Regions from separate parts of the Homo sapiens genome. Here all the other regions are linked to region 3. The links are contacts of gene promoters, found by promoter capture Hi-C in blood cells and fetal thymus (Javierre and others, 2016). All regions are on one chromosome and are shown on one strand. The core of a region is centred on a gene start or on the middle of the fragment in contact, and the rest is flanking DNA. Distances in the headings are between cores, read along the strand shown.

Region 1 (3,057 bases), core at 65-2,564, 780 kb before region 3:
CATCTGTGACTAATAAAGCTTGAGAAAGAGGGGAGGAGAGAGGGTATTCTGCCTTCCAGTAACATGCTTGTCTGAAACTTACTAAACTCCTCTTAGGCAATACTCTGCTCAGAGAGTCATGTGTTTAATTGTAAAAATCTGTCAGTATCATAGGATTCAAAAGACATCAATCATTTATGTCAACAAGGAAAGAGTGAGGGCTGTGTGACTCTTCTATCATTAGGAAAAGATGTGCTCAAGAGACAAAAATGTGGTCTAAGGAGGGCTGAGCAACTGTAGGTTACAGGAAAACTGAGTTCCAGACTATAATTTGGCCCCCCTCCCCTAATTTGGACTGGTATATTATATTTTTCATTTCATGCAATGCCATGTGTGCAGTAAGACATTATGTAACTTGGTCAGTCGCAGTTGTGTAATATCCACTAAATGCTTTAAAGTGGCTGACGTTATTAGCAGTTTGGTGCATGGGGAGGCCATTGCTTCCCCTGGCTTTGGCGGGATGCAATATCGTGTAATGAGGTTGGAACTGGCCTATATTCAAAATTACATTCCCAAAGGGCTGCTATTCAAGCCACATGACAACTGGTTCTCTTTTTCTTAAGACTTTATTCTAAGTGGACTGAAAACAGCAAAATTGCCGTGTTTGAACGGTTCCATAGGTGGAATGGGTCTTTTCCCTGTTTTGCTCCCAATTTATTATTTTATGCTAAGATTTCTGAATTATAACCAGTTTTAGAGACATCGGGACACAAATTCCCGTCCCCCTCCATCTAAGCTGTGTGACCTCGGGCTGGTTCTGAGCCTTCATTTCCTTACCTGTAAATTGGCGATAACACTTCCCTAAGGAGGTGCAAGAAGGCTTATAAAGACTCCAGCAAAGCTCCAGTCTCTTAATTATGTCACCTCAGGCAAGTTATTTAGCCGTTTGATTTGCTGATTCCTTACTTATAAGTTGGACCAGTTGTGGCTACTATCCGCAGTAGTCGAAGAATAGATATCATAGGCAAAGCTCCGGGAAAGGTGGCTGGTCCTTGGCGGCTCGAGAGGACCTGATAATGGTCCTAATAGCGAGCATTCCCTAGGGTGATGCGGTCGAGTTATGAAACTTTGGGAAAAGAGAACAAGGAACGCGGGCGATCAGAGGCCCAGTCGCGAGACCTGCCCCGCTGGGGCCTCCAGCCGGCACCGCGACGCCCCGGGACCTGGCACCGCCTCGCTCCACCCCTGCGAATCCGGGGCGAATCCGGGCGGAGAGTTCCTGCCGGCCGCGCAGCGCAGAGCCCCCTCCGGCCCGCCCTCTCTCCCTCCCTCCCGCTGAGCTCCAGCTGTGCCAGAGGCACCCGAGCCCTGAGAGTCCGCCGCCAACGCGCAGGTGCTAGCGGCCCCTTCGCCCTGCAGGTAGGAGCCGCGCCGAGACCCGGATCACCGGGCGCCCGTGGGAGCCGGGTTTCCACTGCCCTCGCCCTCCGTCCCTCCTCCGCCCAACCTGGGCAGCTGGCCGCTCCCCGCCCAACTTGGACGGGATTTCAGCGAGTGAGTCGGCGGCGGACTCCCTAGCGATCCCCAAGGGCCTCCCTCGCACGCCTTCGGGTGGAATTCCTGCAGGGTGAAAGCTGACAACTCTGGCACGCACTTTTGCCGCGCGGGCGGCTGCCTGGAGCGCAGAGCCGCGCAGGCTCAGGCTGAAGCCCAGGCGTCCTCTGCAGGATGCACCGCCTCGCCGCCACAGGGCTTCGGGTGCAGTGTGTGTGGTGTCCCCAGGTCATCCGGGCGCCCTTGGTTCGGGTGCGCGGTGGCATGACTGGGCTGGTGGGGGCGATGGGACCGGCATCCCGTACCAACCAGGAAGTGCCGCGTCCCAAGGCTTCGAGCCCAGCCCGCAGAGCACGGTCCTGGGGGTGTGATCACAGCTGCTGACCGCGGCTCCCGCCGTGTGATGTGACCACTCGGAGGTGGGGCGAGGGGGCCGGGGGCCAGCAGCAGGGAGTGTGTAAAAGGTCTTCTTCCTCACAATACGATTGAAGGTGTTTGGGACGTAGGGCTCAGATCCAGGAGTGCCGTCCTCCAAGCCTTCCATAGGATTTTGTGACGCCCTTGAGAACCGCCCTTGTAGACTCAGTCCTGAACTACCGCCACGCCTGTATTTGCTCCTCCTCATCTCGGATTATTGCTTTCTTTACTTCCTCTGTGAAGCACTAAATACTAGTAGCTTTTTAAGAACAGACCACAACAGTTTCTTCGTTTGACCATTACTAAGTCTGCCTCCAAAATGGGGAGTTCCGTTAACTTTATCAGCCAGCCCTGCCAATTTTAGTTAAGATAAGCCTTCGTGGGCCTCCAAAGGCCTCTGAGAGACTAGGTACCCAGAGACCTCTGAGGTATGTTAAATGGTTTAGTTCGTGGTGGTGCAATGAAAACTTAAAGAAGGAAAGGAATCTGCAATTTGAACTGTTAACAGACCCCACATTTACACACTGCCTATTTGAATAAGAATCTCTTTCAGTATTAAATGTTTTGTGACACACAAATGAATTTGTACACAGTCTTTTAGCTTGAATTTGTAGACAGCCTTTAAATGTTGTTTGGGGATCTTTGGACTAATTGTATAAGCGCTCAGTCTGGCTTCTCAAGAACCAGTACAGTTAACAATCCATATAAAAAGTTGGAGTGCTGCCTGGGCGCGGTGACTCACGCCTGTAATCCCAGCACTTTGGGAGGCTGAGGCGGGCAGATCACCTGAGGTCAGGAGTTTGAGACCAGCCTGGCCAACATGGTGAAACCCCGCCTCTACTAAAAATACAAAAATTAGCCAGGCGTGGTGGCACACGCCTGTAATCCCAGCCACTCGGGAGGCTGAGGCAGGAGAATCGCTTGAACCCGGGAGGCGGAGGTTGCAGTGAGCCGAGATGGAGCCATTGCACGCCAGCCTGGGCGACAGGGCAAGAATCTGTCTCAAAAAAAAAAAAAAAAAAAAAAAAAAATTGAATGCTAAGGCTTTGAGGAAAAAGTGTCTTTACAATGTTTGTCCCTGATGACAGAATAATTATGAACTATAGT
Region 2 (3,336 bases), core at 714-3,213, 540 kb before region 3:
GCACGAGGTAGCATTAATTAGCTAAAACAAAAATCAGAGCACGTTTCTTTCCCAACCCTATATAAATCAGTGGAAAACCTGTTGTGTTAGTGCTCCCAAACAATCCGACTATCAATTTTAGATATAGTATATGCTCCTGTTTCTGTAGAAAATTTAACTTTCTATCAATTGTTCAGAAAAAATGTGACCATGAAGACCTGATAGTCCTTAGATTAAGGTTCTCCCAGTCTTTTTTTCAACTAACCCTATAAAACAGCCATCTATGTCAGCCGCCTATTGTCAGAGTAATGCCGCTTGACAATTTCAAAATCCAGCAGCTTTCAACAGCAATCCCTTATTCTTGCTTGCGTATCTGTGGGTTGGCTAGAGGTCAGCTGATCTAGGCTGAGCGTGATTCCAGAACTGTTTCATGTGGCGTCTCTCTTCCTCCTCCTCAGACCACCAGGCTGACCAGAGTATTTTCTTCTCATAACAACGGCAGAAACAAAGACAGCAACTGAAAACACAAATGCTTCTTAAGGATTAAGCCTGGAACTGGTACATGGTCACTCTGCTCGCATCCTATTGGCCACAGGAAGCAAAATATTCAAACCCAACATCAATGCCTCTAGTGGAGGAATTCAAAAGCCACATGGTAATGGCTGTGCCTACAAGGCTATAAAAATTGGAGCCAATAAGTCAGTATACCAAAATGTCTAACATGGTTGCTATTCCCTTACAGTATATAGCACCAAGTCAATAGTTATCTGGTTTGCTCTAAGATATCTGTAGCACTCTGAACTCATCTGTATTTCTTTGTTTGCATTCTTCTGGTGACAAACAAGCACATCTAATAACTGCTCCTTCCTCAGATTCTGGTTTTCCTCAACAGAAAGATTTCTGGAACTCATTCTGACTTCAGCCTTCTTAATATACTGCTTGGGTGAATATAAAAGCAGTTCATGGAAGATTCATCTGCCCTGCACCAGATGAAGTAGGAGCCTTCAGTTTTATGGGGGGGGGGGGGGGGAGAAATTCCCTGATTTAAATATTTTTAAACATGCTGTTTTATTATTTTAGATATGATGGCTTTGTTGAATCTCTGATATATTTTCTTGCAACAGAATATGTATCTCATTCCTTTGTTTTCCCAGAGGCTTAATACAGCTCTGGCCATGTGTTCCTAACTACAAATCAAGGTAGATATGCTGACAAGGAGACTTTTTAAAATTGGCAATTACTGCATTTGACATATTGTCTATTACTGATCATTTGTATTCTTCATATTTCCTCTCACAAGGTATTAAATTTTGATTAAACCCAAGGACCTCTGACTGTCATCCATTAATAGGGAGAATTCTGTAGAGTCCTAGACAACATTTTTATATGCAAAATGAGTTAGTAACCTATCATGCTGATTGGTCCAGTGTGGATCCCCCTAAGTCCTAACCACTCCCTTGAGATTAGCACTAAATCTTTCCACCAGCCTACAACATTCTGGGTGACAAGCAATATTTTTTAATGAGGTTCCACTTACACAAACATTTTTATCATCTCTGAAGAAAATTTATACTTCTTTTTGCCAGAATCTCAGGCCAGAAACATCCAATGAAATGATGTAAAAGGTTCTCAGGAATAACAGAAGTCAATGTCACTGTTCCTGGGTTTGTCAAGCACAATCCAATCTTACAAAAATAACATCAGAACTCACTGTGTGCCAGGCCATATGCTAAGTGCTTTCCATAAAGCATCTTAGCAAATCCTCACAACAGCCTTGTGAGATAGGTACCATGGCCTCCAGGGATACTGATGAGAACTTTGACCTTGCAGTCCTTATAGATATTAACAGAGCCTGGATTTGGACTCAAATGCATCTGACCACATAGTTTATTTTTCACTTTGAAATGTCCCCTTCACCTCTATCTTCATGATGGGGAGAGATCATAATGGTACTTCAATCTCCAACCTCAGATGTGTTACCAAGGTCTGCATCGGCTACATATTGTATTGATCCAACATTAAGAAACACCTTAAAAACTGTCATCAAATACTGCTAAACTATCAGAGCAAATCCTGAATAATTTTCCCCATGCTTCTTCTGTGTCTCTGGAAGAATACGATACCAAGAACTCCTTGGTTCCTGGGTACACATTGAATCCGGGGCCCAGGACCCAGATGCCTTTCCCTTAGGCATCTCCTGATTGTTTATTCTATTTTTTTCTCCTCAATACACATAATTCATATAATCACCCTTCTTCCACATGTTTTATTCACTTCCCTGTTTACTAATTAAAGTTTCTTACTTAGAAAAACAACTTCCATGCAAATATTCATAGCAATATTTTTCAAAATAGCAAAAAACTGGAAACAACCTAAATGTTCATCAACTGGTGAATGGACAAATATAATTGGTATATCAATACAAGGGAGTACTACTCAGCAATCAAAACGAATGAAATACTGATAAATGCTGCAACTCAGATAAACCTCAAAAATATTATGCTAAGTGAAGAAGCCAGATGCAAAAAAACCCCACACATTTTATTATTCCATTTATATGAAATTCCAAGAAAAAGCACATCTATGCAGACAGAAAAAACTCTGGTGACTTCATGGGGCTGGGTGAGAATGGGGATTAACTGTAAAAAAGAGAGACTCTTGGCTGGCACAGTGGTTCATGAGTGTAATCCCAGCACTTTGGAAAGCCAACACAAGAGGATCGCCTGAGGTCAGGAGTTCAAGACCAGCCTGGCCAACATGGCGAAACCCTGTCTCTACTGAAAAATACAAAAATTAGCCAGGCGTGGTGGCAGGTGCCTGTAATACCAGCTACTAGCTGTAATACTAGCTACTCAAGAGGCTGAGGCAGGAGAATTGCTTGAACCCGGGAGGTGGAGGTTGCAGTGAGCCGAGATCATGCCACTTCACTCCATCCTGGGTGACAGAGCAAGACCCTGTCTCAAAAAAAAAAAAAAAAAGAATCTTGTTGGGGGGATAAAAATGTTCTAAAACTGGACTATGGGGATGGTTGCACAACTCAGTAAATTCACCAAAAACTATTGAACTGCACACTTTAAATTAGTTAATTTTAGAGTATATAAACTGTACCTAAATAAAGTTTAAAAAATAATCCATGGATAATAATTTTTGATCACATAAAAAACTGATCAAATTCTTTGGACAGTAAGCCAGCGGAAAAATTGATTTTTTATCAGTACACTAAAGGTAGAAATTCCTACCTCAAAGACAATTATTTGGATATCAAATCAGATATTAAAATTTAAGTGTTTTGAAAACTGAAAAACGGTTAATTGATGAAAGATTCCTTAGGTTCAGTGGTGAATGGAAATTATCTCA
Region 3 (3,009 bases), core at 80-2,579:
ACCTGGCACCCGGCAAGACCTCAGTAAAGATTAACCATCATTACTATTAATATTTGCTCACGCTTTTCCACTATGAAATTATTGTATTGTGTCTGCATTACATATGTCTCATCTTATATGTTATAAACACCTAGAAAGAGGAGGCTGTGACTTATTTATCTCAGTCATCTCGGAGCATGGAACTGTGCTGGACTCAGTAAAAGTTTGTAGTTTGATTGAATTACCTTCTCAAACCAAACATTTCAGGTGTGTCACCTTGCAGAGGTGACAGAAATGAAAACAGGGTGGCAAAATAAAAAGGTGAAATCTGAATCTCCTCTAATCCTTCATTTTCTCACCCTGTTTCTTCATAACACCCCTCATTGTGTTGCTGCTTGTTACATTTTTGTTCCGCTGGGAACTGGTTCCATTTGAGCCTCAGTGCAATCTGTGGCCCCAGTTGCCACACACACTTAAAGCTCAATAAATTTGATATCTCCTGAACCCCCACAGGGTTTGGATATCATAAGGGATACTTAGGCCCAAGATCAAGCCATATGAGCAGGTTTATTTGAGAACTCTACGTTAAAGCCTCCAGCAAGTGCTTCTTGACATATATGAAGCAATAATAATAACAACCGCTATTTGCTAAGTACTTATTATATGTTGAGATATGCCAAACACTTTCACATATTATCTCATTTAATCCACTCAACAAAACAAAATGTGTGTTATTTCTATTTTATCAGGCAAAAATAAAAAACTAATCAGAGAAAAGTCACAGTGAGCCACTTGCTTAAGGTTATACTCCCCAGTAAAATGTTGAGATTCAAACCCAAGTCCCTAACAATCCAAAGCTCATCCAGGTAACCATTCAAGTCAACAATGGTCTCCGGCCACACAGCTCAGCTCTAAACAGAAACACCACAGCACTAATTATCTGTGGAGCAGAGTGCAGTGTGCCTCCCATGCTCCACAGCACAGCACGGCAGCTCAGCATATCTCATCTTCTACAAAAGACTCCAAAGATTTCTCTTTTCACCAGCTCCCAATTACTGCCACATAACACATGCCTTGAAATGTGATTGCCTCTGGTTTGTAACTTATGCCTAAGGGACCTGCTCCCATTTTCTTTCCTAGTGGAACAAAGGTATTGAAGCCACAGGTTGCTGAGGCAAAGCACTTATTGATTAGATTCCCATCAATATTCAGCTGCCGCTGAGAAGATTAGACTTGGACTCTCAGGTCTGGGTAGCCCAACTCCTCCCTCTCCTTGCTCCTCCTCCTGCAATGCATAACTAGGCCTAGGCAGAGCTGCGAATAAACAGGCAGGAGCTAGTCAGGTGCATGTGCCACACTCACACAAGACCTGGAATTGACAGGACTCCCAACTAGTACAATGACAGAAGATAAGGTAAAGCAGCATTATATTCATTTCAAGTCTGGTTTTCAGGAGATAGTTAGGGGAATACAGTCAAGTCATACAGAGGATTTGGGGGAGGTTGGGTGTAGCTACCACAGATCAAAATTAATTCTCTTTACTTTGCCAATTGAAGAACTGTTTCTTATTCAGTAATTGGGGTTTTAAGGATTTTTGCTCTGTTAACTGACTAGTCTGCATAAGTTTTTTCAAGTAATTGTGCATAACCATATTACTAAAGAAATATGTCCCCTCCTAACCAAAAAAAAAAAAAAAAAAAAGGGGGCAGATTGACCTAAATTTAATCATGAAAACTCATCGGGAATCTTCAAAAACGTCAATGCAGGAGAGACAAAAGAGGTAGAAGGGTTGTTCTCTAGATTAAAAGGGATTAAGACAAACTGACAACCAAATGCAACAAATGATTTAGATTGTGGAAGGAAGAAAAAAATAGCAATAAGGGAACTATGGAGACGTTGGGAAATTTTAAATATGGGCTGCATCTTAAATAATATTACTGTATCAATTTCACACTCTTGGATATAATAATGGTATCTAATTATGTAGGAGGATGTCTTTGTTCTTTGTACATGCTAAAGTATTTAGGGGTGAAATGACACAAATATCTACAGCTTATTTGTAAATGGTTCAGCCAAAACAACACACACACACAAACACTACAGAGCGAGAGATCAACAAATTGGTGAATGTTAACCAGTGGTGAATAAAGGCGAAGGTTATGGAATGATCACTTCACTACTGTTTCAACTTCTCTCTAGATATGATACTTTAAAAAAAAACTTAAAAATATAAAGGATATAGTGTCCTTGCTCCCTTATACGTGGTTTCTAAACTCACCCACCCCTGTACACACAATCATATAAGTTGATCAATCTGTGCCCTGTAGGGTCTCACCTTTAAGTTCTCATCTGGTGCAACTTACTCTGCTGAACATTCCTTCATGTCATTAGATGGCATGGTTAGCTGCACTGGCTTTGGAGTCAGCCAGACTTGGATCTGGGTTCTAGCAATGCCACTAAACTGCTGTGAGGCCTGGGTTAAGTTATTTAACTGAGCTTTGGGTTTTCTCTATTGTGAGAAAACAAAAACATATTAGGATACAATATACCCTTTATAGGCAAAGAAACTTGGGCTCAGTGATATAATATGGGATATTCAGGGATTATACTAGTACTTTAGAGTTAGGGAGTAATTAAATGAGATTATATTAGAGAGGCTTAGACAACAATTTTAATGTTAATAGTTATATAATTATTAATAGTGTTAAATACATATTTAAATAGTATTTATAAATTATAAAAGATAAATTATATTATAATGTATAAACACTTTAAATACATATTATATAAGCACCATTTATATGTTTGATATTTAAAGTTAAATATAAAATGCTATTTATATAGCATTTATATAGTATGTATTTAAAGAATAATTAGCACATCATGATTTCATGAGTATTATAGCCCAGGATAAAGCTAAAGTAGTTAGAACTTTAAGGTCAATATAAAGACAAACATTAAGTTAACAACTACATAGATGGTATGTAGATTTGGCAAAATTCATGAAGGTAGTAATCAAATAACTAAAGT
Region 4 (2,997 bases), core at 454-2,953, 650 kb before region 3:
GTACTGAGGAGGAACCCTAATTTATGTGGAATAGTTTTTAGGCCATGGCTAAAAACAAAAACAAATTTGAATTATGAGCAGGTTGAATTCAATTAGTACCAAGATAATTTCCTGAGACTAAGAATTTCCTTTATTTTCCTTATCATAACTGGTTGTTAGGTGAAAGATAATTTTTAAATGAGTGTATATGTGTTTATGTAAAGCCTTAGCTTAGAGTTTTGCAGTTGATGAAAGCAAATTGTATATGTGTATTTTATATTTGAAATTTGAAATATTGTTTATCTCATTTTTCATCCCTTTTGTTTCTTTTCTCACCCTCTTTTCTTCTTTTAACAAAGTGCTATGTAAACAATAAAGAGCCTATAGATGAGCAAACAGACCTACCCGTACTTTGGCCTTTCAGTCTCATAAAGCAGGAAAATAAATCACTGGGAGAAGTCAATAGAAGTCTATTTTTAACATGATTTCATTTTGCTAATCTATGGCATTTTAAATCATTTTTCTTCTGTAGAAAACTTTAATAGCCTTTGAAAGGTTAATGATTCAGTTTGAGATAGAATATTAGCATTGTGTGTGGTGATTACATAAAAACATTTGTTCTGCAAATATTTATTGATTGCCTGGGTGCTTGGAGCTACTGGCAGTGAGAAGATTTGGTTCCCACTCCCAAAGAGTTTATAGACTGGTGAGGCATTGATGCGGGCAGGGGAGCATCCTGATACAATTGCGTCACAGAGTCAGAGGTGTTGGGGCAGTTGTTAGTGGGATGACAGCAGTGCTAGTGACTGCCTCTTCCTTATGGGGAGATGGCAGGTGATAGCTAATGTGGCTCTTGAAGGATGATTAGGATATCAGGCCAAGAGGGAGAAAGGAGCATTTCAGGTAGAAGTAATAATGTGCCAACTGCATGGAGACATGGCAGTCCACACCTGTTATAATACAGTGAAACACGTGATTTGCATGGGGCCTGGGGTTGGGTGGGGAAAAACAAGGACTAGAAAGATAGATTGGCACCAGTTTGGGAAGAGTCTTCTATGCACACTAAGCCCTTAGGACTTGAGCTTCCTATAGGCAGTATGTGAACCTTCCAGGGTTTTAAGCAAAGAGTGCATTTTACAAAGACAGTTCTGGGACAGTGTGTTGGTGGCAGGACCAGTGTAGTCCTCTCACTGGCTACTGCAAGCAGTACCATTTATTCATTCAACACATATTTTTGCATTCAGTGTCTATTTGTTAAATGCCTCTTTTGTGCCAAGTGCTGCGTTTGTGATTTGTAATTCTGCATCTTTTTACTTCATTGTCTTTGTATTTAGCCGTAAGTCAATGGTCTCGGCACAGTTATTTGTGAAATGCTATAGTAGATTGCTGCTTTTGCACCTATATCATAAGCTTTCATCTGTTGTTACCATATTTTTTATAAATGCCATCTATGATTTGAAGTATATAAATGTTAAAGCGCAACAGATTTTAGCTGTTATCTAGGCCAAATTCTTCATTTTACGCATAATGGATTTATGATCTAAAAAACTGAAGCTCAGTGTCACTTAGCTAATTAATTCCAGGGCTGGAACATGGGCTATCTGTAAATTTGAGGTTCTTGCTTTAATGCAAAAGAATTATGCATCAGGTGTGCACCATGTTGGTTGAGGAAAAAGAAGTGGCATGGTGTCTTTATTGCCCCTGCGTCTCAGGTTTCTCCACCTCTCCCCTCCCCGCCCTTCCCACTCTGCCCCTGAAAGCCCCCCACCAGCTTTACTGCTCTCATAGTGCCACCTTGTGAGTTCTTTATTCACAGTTAATTCTGTGATAGTTCTTCCAGTGATCTGGTAGGTGGTGGAAATAAGTTACTCAACTGCCTGAGAAGGTCAAATTTCATTGTTTAATGATGAATCTTGTTGTAGCCCTAACTGCCCACTAAAAGTAAACTTGTAAGGACTGTAAAACCTTGTTAGCCCACAGCCTGTAATAGAATGGACAGATGCCACCCTAGTTGTGTCTTAAGAAATTAAGAAGCTTTTAGGTGTTTAATAAATGAGAGTTGAGCCTCCCTTTCTGGGACTCACCTGAACCACAGTCTCTGAGGGGGTCTTGCTGCATTCACAGATACCGGGTCCATCCGTAGTTTACAGACAGGTGTGGGAGAGCTGCATGGGGAAACCAGATTCTGGCATGGAAAGGACTACTGCAATTTCGTCTTCAAAGACTGGGTTCAACTTGATAAACCTTTTGCTGGTGAGTATCATAATGGTGGGGTGCTGGTTATATTTTGTCTTTTACCTTTGAACATCTCAGCAAGTATACATGTGCATGATCTAAATGCCTTTTGTTTTGCTTCCGTTGATTTTTGAAAATTTTTTAAAACTTTGGAGACTAGATTTAGTCATTAGCATGTGCTTAAGGACTTTTTTTTCAGTTATAATAAGAAAAGAACATGAAATAGAGCTGAACTGTCTGAAAAATCCAGATTTTTATAGGCATATTTTGGGGGCAATAATCAGTAATTTTTCAGGAAATGGTAGGCTCCCTTTGATCATCTTCTATTCTGCTTATTTCCTGCATTTCCAGCGTTAGAATGGCATATTTTCAGGTTATCACTGGGTTTATATGTTTAAGAGGAGATAGAGATGGCATTGCCTGCCATTGTTTCAACAGGATAAAAAATAAAAAATATAATATCAAATACACAGCCTTAGATAATTTGTACCAACTCACATCTTGCCATGTCTAGTGATTATCTAATCCTAAGTGAAACGGAAACATATGTGGGGAAGTGCCTGGGAGACTATGTCCCTGAATGTGAAATCTGTTTCCCTTGATTATAAAAATGTTGTTCTATGCAAGCCAAGAAATATATACCTAGTGGGCACTAACCCACGTTTCCTTTTAGTTTCATAGTTGGAGTCAGAGAGACTTTGCCCCAACACTGAAGTTAATGACTGATCCTTGCCTGGTGCACCCGGGCAGATTTCATTGACAGGTACTCCACGCCCCGGATGC
Region 5 (3,407 bases), core at 420-2,919, 560 kb before region 3:
ATGGGAAACCTGCCTCTCGGAAAGCTTGGTACGTCCTTCCCAACTTGTGTTTGACTTGAGTGAGAGAGACACAGGCCAAGGGACCAATGATTTATCCACTTCCCAGACCACGCCGAAACCAGTAAACCTCAAGCAAGACTGGACAGATTTCTTTTTGCCTTGCTTGATCTCTCCAGAGATTTCTAGTTAGGAGTGGAAATTTGGAGAAATGAAAGATAATGATATTACTTGAACAGTCATTACAGGCCATGCTTCTGGTTTACTGTTGGGAAAACTGAGGCGAGGGCTTGTGGTAAGGAATACATGAGTCCTTAAGTGAAAGTGTTCTGAAATTTTAAATGCTCATATAATACAAAGCCTGTGCCCAAGGCCAGAAATAGCTTCAGGATTACTTCAGGATTTTTGTCTTAGGCTTGGCAATTCCAGATAGTATACACTGGACCCAGATACCCTGAATTTTCTCTGGTAAATATATCTCCTCTACTTGATAGCAAGGAGTCAGGGCCAGGAAAAGTTTGGACCTCAGATGGGATGGGCTGATGTGTGATGGGTGTTTTCACCACAGACCATATTGCTTTACATTTTTCACTTCGGGATCTTTATTCATCAGGGCACACTAGGGACACATCATAGATATTGTCAAGGTAAGCCTACGGAAGGCAGGCATAATACCAGTAAATACTTCACCCTCCTCCAAAGAGCTGCAAGCACTTCCAAGTATGCTTTCAGAGTAGCTGCTTATGAAAGATCAGACCAGTTGCTACTTTTTTTTTTCACATTTTATGGAGCAACAAACTGAAAGATTAAATGACACAGACAAGGTCTGAATAATGAGTAGAGAGAATGGAACAGAACTTCCGGAGGCTTCACTCTCACTGAGTAAGACCCCACTACGACTTCCCTACGAGGTTGAGAGAGTGAGCCCAGCTAAAGCAGCCTGTAAGCTCCCTCTCCCTCAGTCACATTCTCAGGCTACAAATAACATTAACCATAGCCCTGGTTTAAATGCTTCCTGGCCTTCTCCATTTCAGCTGCAAAATTTCCAAAGATCTGTTTGATTTTCAGATCTTACTTTCAAAGTATTTGGAGAAATTTTTAAACATATACAAATGCAACTCTGAAAAAAAAACTCCACATAAGTCTATTGGCTCAATTAGTCTTTAGACAAAGGTAGTATTGTTTAACAGTTAAGAGAATGGAACTTGAAGTCAAATCTCAGCTCTGTCAGTATTTTAGTTGGTATCTTCGGGCAAGTTACACAATCACTCTAAACCCTGTTCTCATAGGCTTCTGTTTCTCTGGAGAACCCTGACTACTGCATGGGTTGTTTCTAGGATGTTAGTTCTGCTTCTCTGGAGAACCATGACTATTATATATTATATATATAATCTCATAAGAGATTTCTTATGAAAATTAGCTCACATGTTTATGGAGGACAAGAAGTCCTACTATCTGCTGTCCGCAAGCTGAAGAACCAGAAAAGCCAGTGGTATAATTCAGCTTGAGGCCAAAGGCCTGAGAAACAGGAGCTTGGATGTCTGAGAGCAGAAGCTGGATGTTCCAGCTCAAGGATAGAGAGCAAGAATTTGGCCTTCCTCTGACTTTTGTTCTATTCAGGCCGTCAATGGATTGGATGATGTCTGCCCCCCACATTGGTTAAGTGTGGATCTTCTTTACTCAGTCCACTGATTCAAATGCTCGTCTCTTCCACCAACACCCTGCAGACACACCCAGAAATAATGTTTTACCAGCTATCTGGGCATCCCTTAACCCAATCAAGCTAACACTTAAAATTAACAATCACACTACACAAGTATTTATTGAGCACATAATATATGTGGGGCCTATTCTATGTTTGAAATAGATTAGGGAAACCTACAACTAACAATAAAATTACTGAATTGCCATTGGCATCAACAACACAATGAATATTTGGTGTGAGGAGGACAGGGGGAGGATTTTTTGAAAAAAAAAATCTAAAGACCTAATTTTAAATTTCATTTCTCTCTACTTGTCATCTACCAATCCTTTAGTCACTCCCACCTAAACCACAAAGATTTTTCATCTGTTTTGTTCTTACTCTTAACTAGGATCATTTCATGATCCATATAGGCATAGGAACAACCTTGACCTCTCTGTATCTTGAACCCCAACTCCAGTGTTTGTAAAAATGTTTACTCCACTTTTGTTATCCCTTATCCCTGCTCACAGATGTTGCCTAAAGAGACTCAAGTTTTTAAGCTATGTGCATATTTATAATCATGTATTAATTCACCACATCTTTCACAAGGGTCTGCAACATCCCAGGCACTATTCTGAGCCCTAAGGATAAAGTGGACAAAACAGACCAACTTTTGCCCATGGAGTAAAAAGAGACAGACAATAAGGCAGTTAAAGTCAAAGATCACTTCAGATGGTATAAAGTCCTAAAAGAAAGATACTCGTGGTGTAGGGAGAGTAATAGGTTTGCAAGTCCTGGAAGACAGGATGTTATGTCAGTCAGGGTGATGGAGGAGGGTCTCTCTGAGGAAGAGGCATTTCGGACAGGTCTGAATGTTGAGAAGGGGCCACCATGTAAAAATGTGGGTGAGAATGTGTAAGACAGAACAGCAGATGCAAAGGCCATGAGCCCCACAAAGGATGACCTTGTGTGACTGAGGAGCAAGCAGAAGGCCAGTGTGGCTGAAAGTGAGTGAGGGGACCGTAATGGGAAATGACATTGGAGGCCCAGGCCAGGGCAGTCCAGGTAGGTATTTTAAGCCTTAGTTAAAAGTTTGAAGTTTATTCTAATTGTTAAGACATCACAAAAAGATTTTAAGTAGGGGAGTAACTTGATATAATTAAATTAAGAGATCATTTTGGCTGGTATGGAATAAAGGAAGACATAGAATGGAGTTGACAATGATGCTTACTTATCATAGTTAGTGTTTTTTCAAAAGTAGACCTTGAATAATGGACTTGGATGCTGGTAATTTATTTGGAAGTGGCCCCAGAAAGCACAAGTCAGGGAGTGGGGAAAGTGAGTCAAGGATGAGAGAAATGCTAATAGAGAGTGCATTAGTGCATTAATAGGCAGGCTACCACCATGGACAACAGGGCTCAATCCCACTTCAGAAGAATCATGTGAAACACATACTCCTGTAGCTTGAGAAAGCCCTCAGGGAAAGCAACAGAGGTGCTTTGACACTTAATGTAAGAAACTCTCACTGTGTATGGGAAATGTCTACCACAGCTTTGGGGGAACTCAGAGGTAGACTGAGCAGAACTGAGGCTGCCCTGAAGAAAAGAAATTCCGCCTTCAGATAGAAGCTTCAGCTCATGCCAGAGAGTTCCTAATGCCTGTTGTTTCTGATGGCTTGCCCAGCCCATTTCAGACTCGCCAGGCCCCACAATCACATAAGCCAATT
Region 6 (3,146 bases), core at 293-2,792, 590 kb before region 3:
TTATAGCATAACCACGATGTAAGTCTATGTATAAAGGATGATTTGGTGCTAACAAAACAAAGTGTTTCAAAGGTTCCCACTTTTCAGCAGCACTCCAGTAGCATTCTCACATTTCTGTAGGGTGCTCGATCCTTTCTCTGTTACCCAGGGCCACCATGGGGAAACACTCACATCCATAGTCATCATAGATTTATATATTAACCACATGACAATATTCTGGCAACAGGCAGTAAAGTCTCTTCAGGAAAGGGCAGCTTTTCTCATTCATCTCACCATTTGAGCTCTGGTAGGGCTGCTGTCACCTTATAGCTCTGGCTGCTCCAGTCAGAGGGCCGCCAGGGTGCCTGTTCAACCTGACCCTTCTGCTCCACGTCTGAAGAAGCAGTGGAGTTGTTGCAGCTAGAGCAAGAGGAACAAGAAGAGTCAGTCAGGCCCTTTCTGTAGTTTGCAGGACACCTCAAGGATTCAAATGCATGAATCTGCAGAGATTAATGCAAAAAAACGTGATGAGGTTCCTGAATACACAGCAGAGGACTGCAGAAAGCACAGGTTGAACTAATAGCAAAATATTTGCCCTTCACATGTAAAAGTCAACATTCTCAGCTCACTTGGATTTAAAAAAAAAAATGGACTCCTTGAATGAACCAGGTATTGAGCTAATAAAGAGAATTAATAATTTTAAAAAATAGAATGGAGGAAAGTTGCTACAGAAGCTATTGGCATGCTACACAAGTGAGGGAGGCAAGAAAGCAGAAAGCCCAAAGCCACAAATGACAATCTGTATTTGAGATTATACTCTATTAATTATGAAGGTACTCTTGAGTTTTGACATTCACAGTTATGTGACTTTGAGTTAAAGCCTACAGAGAGCCTGATTCTTAACTCCAAAAGCAAAGCCATCTTTCCTACTGAACTGGTAGGCATGCCTTTTTTCAAGTGCTTGATGATTGTAACAGTTAGAATCTTTTGTGCCACAAGGTAGAAAACTCAACTAGAAGTGTGTGTGAAACAATAAGGAACAATGTAGAAAATAAGGAAAATATATTATTTCACATGACAGAAGGTAAGAATATTCAAAGGTTGGCTAATTCAATGACTTAAAGACCCAGAATCTTTCTTCTTTTTTAATTGTTATTTTTATGTTTTGTTTAGAGATGAAGTCTTGCTCTTTGGCCCAGGCTGAAGTGCAGTGGTGCAGTTACAGCCCACTGCAAATTTGAAATCCTAGGCTCAGGCGATCCTCCTGCCTCAGCATTCCGAGCAGCTGGGACTACAGGCATGCGTCACCACACTCAGCTAATTTTTAAAAACTTTTTGTAGAGACCAGGTCTCGCTATGTTGTCCAGGCTGGTCTCAAACTCCTGGCTTTAAGCGATCCTCCTGCCTTGGCCTCTCAAAGCACTGGGATTACAGACATGAGCCACCATGCCTGGCTCTTTTTTCTACTTAGCATTTTCTTTAAGCTTTTTTGTTTGTTCTCTAGTGGTTGTGAAATGGCTGCAGCAGCTCCTGGAATCATGTCTTCTTCCAACCCTTCAAGCCAAGATATCCAAAGGATGGAAGAGACAGAATCCATTTTTTGTGTGTTTATACAAAGGGGAAACTCTTTCTCAGAAGCTTTCCTTCATGTCACATTGGCTAGCACCATGTCAAGAGCCCATTTCTAAGCCAGTCACTAATAAAAATAATGAAATTACCATGGCTGGCTTAGACTGATTAAGATTCACCCCTGGGTTAGGGAGGGCCCCACCTCCCTAAAAACACATCTTCCCTTGAAAACCTGGACAAAATTACGGTTTTGTTTGCAAGGATGAATTGAGTTGGGAGGGCAACCAACAGTGTCTGCCACAACAGGAAGGTTGTTCAGCCTCACTGTTTCTCCTTACAGGCTCTGCCAACATAAATGACCGCAGCATGCTGGGAAAGCGTGACAGTGAAATGGCTGTCATTGTGCAAGATACAGAGACTGTTCCTTCAGTAATGGATGGAAAAGAGTACCAAGCTGGCCGGTTTGCCCGAGGACTTCGGCTACAGTGCTTTAGGTCAGTCCGCCAAAGTGTGTCTCTCTGATGCATTTCCACTGCAGCAGTCGCTGGGACCCAGCCCCGCTAGCCCTGAGCACATGGGTCATCCTAGGTTCTTCTTCATCTAAAACAGTGTGTCCCAGAATATAGGATATGTACCACCAGTAGTATGCGAAATGACTTTAGGTGGTACATGAATATTTTTTATTTTAATAGCTTTTTATTACTGTCACGTGCAGTAGAAAAAACTGCAGTGGTGCAGTTACAGCTCATTGCATCCTTGAATTCCTAGGCTCAAGCAATCCTCCTGGCTCAGCATTCCGAGTAGCTGGGACTACAGGCCCGTGTCACCACACCCAGCTAATTTTTAAAAATTTTTTGTAGATACCGTGTCTCGCTGTGCTGCCCAGGCTGGTCTCAAACTCCTGGCTTTAAGTGATCCTCCTGCCTTGGCCTCTCAAAGCACTGGGATTACAGACGTGAGCCAATTAAATACTAGTCCTTAACTGAATTAGGACTAGACCAGGTCAAACCCTCCAGCTTCCATTTAAGTTTTTAAAATCAAATTAATTCCAGTAATACAAGGATATAATAAAAATTATTGAAGGGGTATGCCAGTGACTGCTGGTGTAAAATTTAAATGTGGAAACTTCTGTTTTCAGGTCTAAAATGACTCCAGGTGTCGAAGATCCCTGATCTTTGGCAAGAAGATGCAAATTTTAAACTAATCTGTGGTGAAGCAGAGAGAATACTGGGCTAGGAAGCTGGGCTCGTTTCAGCTGTGCGATCCTAAATAAGTCCATTCAATAAAGTGTTATTTAGAACTTTCAAGGGCTGCGCTGTAACTGTCCACGTCCCCTGTTGTGTTTTCTCAACACAGTGGTCCCTCTAGAACCTTCTAGATCATGTTGCTTCTCTGCTCACTACTGTCCAATGGCTTCTTATCTCACAAGGAACAAGTAATATAATCTCGTCTCCTTTCACTGTTTCCCTTGCTCCCTGCAGACACTCATTTCCCCACCGGCTGTGGAACACCCTGACTACTCTCCCAACTCTAGGCCTTTGTAGGAAGTCCACAGTTTTATGATTCTAGAACTATATTTGCCATAATGCAATTTTGGT
Region 7 (3,170 bases), core at 134-2,633, 630 kb before region 3:
GAGTTGCTAAAATAGAGACCACTGGATGCCACTGGTTTGGGCATGGCGGAGTAGGGAGAGTGCAGGGAAAAGAACGTGGAAAAGGAAGATGTGAGAACATTAAGAGCAGGTACCACCTTCTTCAATCCTGTGTGAACTACTATTGATTAGGAAGCTTTTTTTCATCCCAGAATTTTTAGAGCATATGAGAAAATCTGGGGACACTGAGTTTAGTTTGGGAACTTAAATTACTCTTCAAAGTGAATATAAAAATAGTTCAGAGAACTTGAAAAACCCTGAGAAAATAAAAAGTCACAATAATGGAAAAAATAAATCATAGCATAATTTCCTTCCTTATTTGAGTCTTTTCTTTCCCATTGAATTTTTTAAAGGTAGATAGGGGAATGGGTTAACTGAGGAAAACCATTCTAGCCCTGTTTTTCTTCCCCTTGGGTCCTGGCCCTCTCCCGCTCTGCACAGCAACAATTCATTAGAGACAAGCAGGGAAGAATTGGAGCTTTATTTGTTTCATGAGCCTGGCTAGAGAAACCTAAGTTAAATATAATATATTAGCTGGCTAAATGCAGTGTGGTATCCTGAATGGCATCATGGAATAGATATAGGACATTAGTGGAAAATGAGCGAACTCTGCATAAAGTCTGGAGCTTAGTAATGCTATTAGTATTATTAATTTAAACAATTATACCATAGAGATGGAAAGATGTGAAGGCTGGCTCATCTATTGCCCAGAATCATTTTGCTTCATCTCTTTTTAGTAGCATTAACATCAGCTTTTCTGGCCGGGCACGGTGGCTCATGCCTGTAATCCCAGCACTTTGAGGGGGCCAAGGCGGGTGGATCACCTGAGGTCAGCAGCTCGAGACCAGCCTGGCCAACATGGTGAAACCCCGTCTCTACTAAAAATACAAAAAAATTAGCCGGGCATGGTGGCGGGCACCTGTAATCCCAACTACTTGGGAGGCTGAGGCAGGAGAATCACTTGAACCTGGGAGGCGAAGGTTGCAGTGAGCCGAGATCATGCCATTGCACTCAAGCCTTGGTGACAAAAGTGAGACTCCATCTCAAAAAAATAAAAAAAATAAAAAATAAAATAATCAGCTTTTCTTTTTAATGTGACAGTAGTATTAAATGATGTCAGTAACGCCATGTAGGTATACATAGTTGGGACATAGACCTGGTTGACACTCCTCTAGTCAAGATAAGCAGTCAGCATTCATCCGACTCTTCCAAAAAAGGAGAAGTAAAGGACATGACATGTAGCCAGTCTGTGTTTACAGCTGCTGAGGCATGCTAAGCTTCTTTATAATATGAATTCAGAAAAAGAAACATGGTTTGGTTGCCAATGAGATTTTGATTGTCTGATGCCCTAAGGGGAATCACATTCTCAAAAGACTTTCTGCACCGTGTCTTCCTGTAAGTTTGTCTTCTGGAGGCATTTTACAGATTTATGCACTTAAGTATAAAAGCTTATATAGTCATAAAAATGATAATGCCACAAAGGGATGATAATTACGAGTTGTTACATATATATCTCTTTACCTTGAGATGATTAGCAAATATTACTTTGTGATAATTGTCCTTATAAATTACAGATGTGTTATAACAATCTATTCTATTTGAACACATAACATTAGTAATATTTGCACCAAATTTTTCACATTCCTTTATGCAGCAACAAAATATTTTGCATTGTTATGATAATGTTGTAACTTGTTTTCTAGTAACAGTTTTAAAGACTATTTTGTAGATATATAAATAGCAGAAGTACTTAGAGGAAAAAAACATTTTTTATTTTATTAACTGGCTTATATATATGCAACATACAAAAGAGAGTTGAGGCTACTTAAAATAGAAGTTCAGAGATAATAAGAGACCCAGACAAACAAGACAAGGTGAAAGCAGATACCAGGAAATAATGGAGAAAGGGTGGAGAAAACTAGACCAGGCTTTACCATCTACTCTGTTAAAAAAGCAAGCTTAGCATGAGATAGAATGTTTGCCAATATAGAATTTTTAATCATAAGCATTTATACAACATGTGAATCTGAAAAAAACTAGTTTCCCCATTGATTAAATTTGCAGTGTTCCTAAGTATTCTGAGAATGTAATTTAGAAAATCACCTATAAGGAATTCTCATGGTGAAATAATATAGTGTAACTTTCCACTTGATTAAGTGTTACAGGTGATATGACCTGGAATCAGATGAGACCCTGAGTGAGATGAGGCGGCTTTTTTTCTGTGTCGTTGACTTTCTTGATGTGATTTCAGTGATCAGAACACATCTGCTGTGTGAAACATTTTAAAAAATATATTACAGTATTGTTCTTACGTATATTGCTAAGAAAATAAAGACTAACATGATTGTCTTGTTTATTTCTCATAGAACCAGTTTTTCATAAGCTGTGCTGATGACAAAGTTGTGTTCAACAAGATAGGCGATGCCATTGCCCAGAGGATCCTGAAAGCTCACAGGTAACAGCCTTTGGCTGAGAGTTCTCGCTGCAGATGTTCTTGTATTTATTACTAAAATGACTTTGCAAAGCCCATTTTTAAAGTACTGTCATTTCCTAGCAGCTTAAATTTGGTTCAGCCAGCAATAGGTTATTGATGCCTTTAGTCTGAGTCAGTTGCTAAAGATTTTTGACTGCCCTTTCTAGGGAATTTGAATTCTTCCAAGGCACAAAAATTTCTTCCTGGCCAGTCTGTTTCCCACACATGAGGTTTGTGATTTGTTTTATTTAATAGCAGACTATGAGCTGTGTTCGCTTAAAAAAGCAAAACAGACATAATATTTTGCTATGGGTTATATTTAAATTCTTGTTACCGTATGTCATATTTATTCAGCTCATGGGATTTTTTTTTTAATAATTGGTTTGCTGAGATAGAATTTACATACTGTATAATCCAGCCACTTAAACTATACAATTCAGTGATTTTTAGTGTATTCACAGAGTTGCACAACCACCACCTAATCAATTTTAGAACATTTTCATCCACTCAGAAAGAAACCCCATTAGCAGTCATTACCCATTCCTTCTATTTTTAGCCTCTGGCTACCACTGATTTTTCTTTTTCTATAGATTTGCCTAATCTGGGCATTTTGTATAAATGGAGTCACACAATATGGGGTCTTTTATGACTGATTTGTCTTAGCATAATGTTCTTGAAG

What was found. The method cuts DNA at HindIII sites, captures the fragments that hold promoters and counts their contacts. A CHiCAGO score of 5 or more calls a contact.
Region 1: a contact is called between the fragment with the promoter of PLD1 here and the fragment with the promoter of SLC2A2 in region 3, in 3 of 17 cell types (activated CD4 T cells, total CD4 T cells and megakaryocytes). The highest score is 8.3, in activated CD4 T cells.
Region 2: a contact is called between a fragment that was not itself captured here and the fragment with the promoter of SLC2A2 in region 3, in 4 of 17 cell types (fetal thymus, M2 macrophages, endothelial precursors and 1 more). The highest score is 6.9, in fetal thymus.
Region 4: a fragment that was not itself captured here is called in contact with the fragment with the promoter of SLC2A2 in region 3 in 2 of 17 cell types (non-activated CD4 T cells and fetal thymus); the score reaches 6.3 in non-activated CD4 T cells.
Region 5: a fragment that was not itself captured here is called in contact with the fragment with the promoter of SLC2A2 in region 3 in 5 of 17 cell types (M1 macrophages, M0 macrophages, endothelial precursors and 2 more); the score reaches 8.2 in M1 macrophages.
Region 6: a contact is called between a fragment that was not itself captured here and the fragment with the promoter of SLC2A2 in region 3, in 2 of 17 cell types (M1 macrophages and M0 macrophages). The highest score is 5.6, in M1 macrophages.
Region 7: a contact is called between a fragment that was not itself captured here and the fragment with the promoter of SLC2A2 in region 3, in 1 of 17 cell types (M2 macrophages). The highest score is 5.3, in M2 macrophages.

Annotation. Positions count from the first base shown.
Region 1 is chr3:171,808,740-171,811,796 of GRCh38, reverse strand. PLD1 (phospholipase D1) reads left to right here and starts at 1,314. Exons shown (of 27, transcript NM_002662.5): 1 at 1,314-1,398. The HindIII fragment of the contact is 4,859 bases long and covers 21-3,057 here.
Region 2 is chr3:171,567,035-171,570,370 of GRCh38, reverse strand. No RefSeq gene overlaps it. Among named protein-coding and RNA genes, the nearest start is that of TNIK, 110 kb to the right of the region's middle. The HindIII fragment of the contact is 5,033 bases long and covers 1-3,336 here.
Region 3 is chr3:171,025,040-171,028,048 of GRCh38, reverse strand. SLC2A2 (solute carrier family 2 member 2) reads left to right here and starts at 1,329. Exons shown (of 11, transcript NM_000340.2): 1 at 1,329-1,393. The coding sequence starts at 1,379. The HindIII fragment of the contact is 3,598 bases long and covers 1-3,009 here.
Region 4 is chr3:171,676,801-171,679,797 of GRCh38, reverse strand. It overlaps PLD1 (phospholipase D1), which reads left to right. Exons shown (of 27, transcript NM_002662.5): 17 at 2,104-2,232; 18 at 2,965-2,997. Among named protein-coding and RNA genes, the nearest start is that of PLD1, 130 kb to the left of the region's middle. The HindIII fragment of the contact is 624 bases long and covers 1,392-2,015 here.
Region 5 is chr3:171,586,626-171,590,032 of GRCh38, reverse strand. No RefSeq gene overlaps it. Among named protein-coding and RNA genes, the nearest start is that of TNIK, 130 kb to the right of the region's middle. The HindIII fragment of the contact is 3,285 bases long and covers 27-3,311 here.
Region 6 is chr3:171,611,175-171,614,320 of GRCh38, reverse strand. PLD1 (phospholipase D1) reads left to right here. Exons shown (of 27, transcript NM_002662.5): 25 at 1,889-2,042. Among named protein-coding and RNA genes, the nearest start is that of TNIK, 150 kb to the right of the region's middle. The HindIII fragment of the contact is 154 bases long and covers 1,466-1,619 here.
Region 7 is chr3:171,658,516-171,661,685 of GRCh38, reverse strand. PLD1 (phospholipase D1) reads left to right here. Exons shown (of 27, transcript NM_002662.5): 21 at 2,385-2,473. Among named protein-coding and RNA genes, the nearest start is that of PLD1, 150 kb to the left of the region's middle. The HindIII fragment of the contact is 171 bases long and covers 1,298-1,468 here.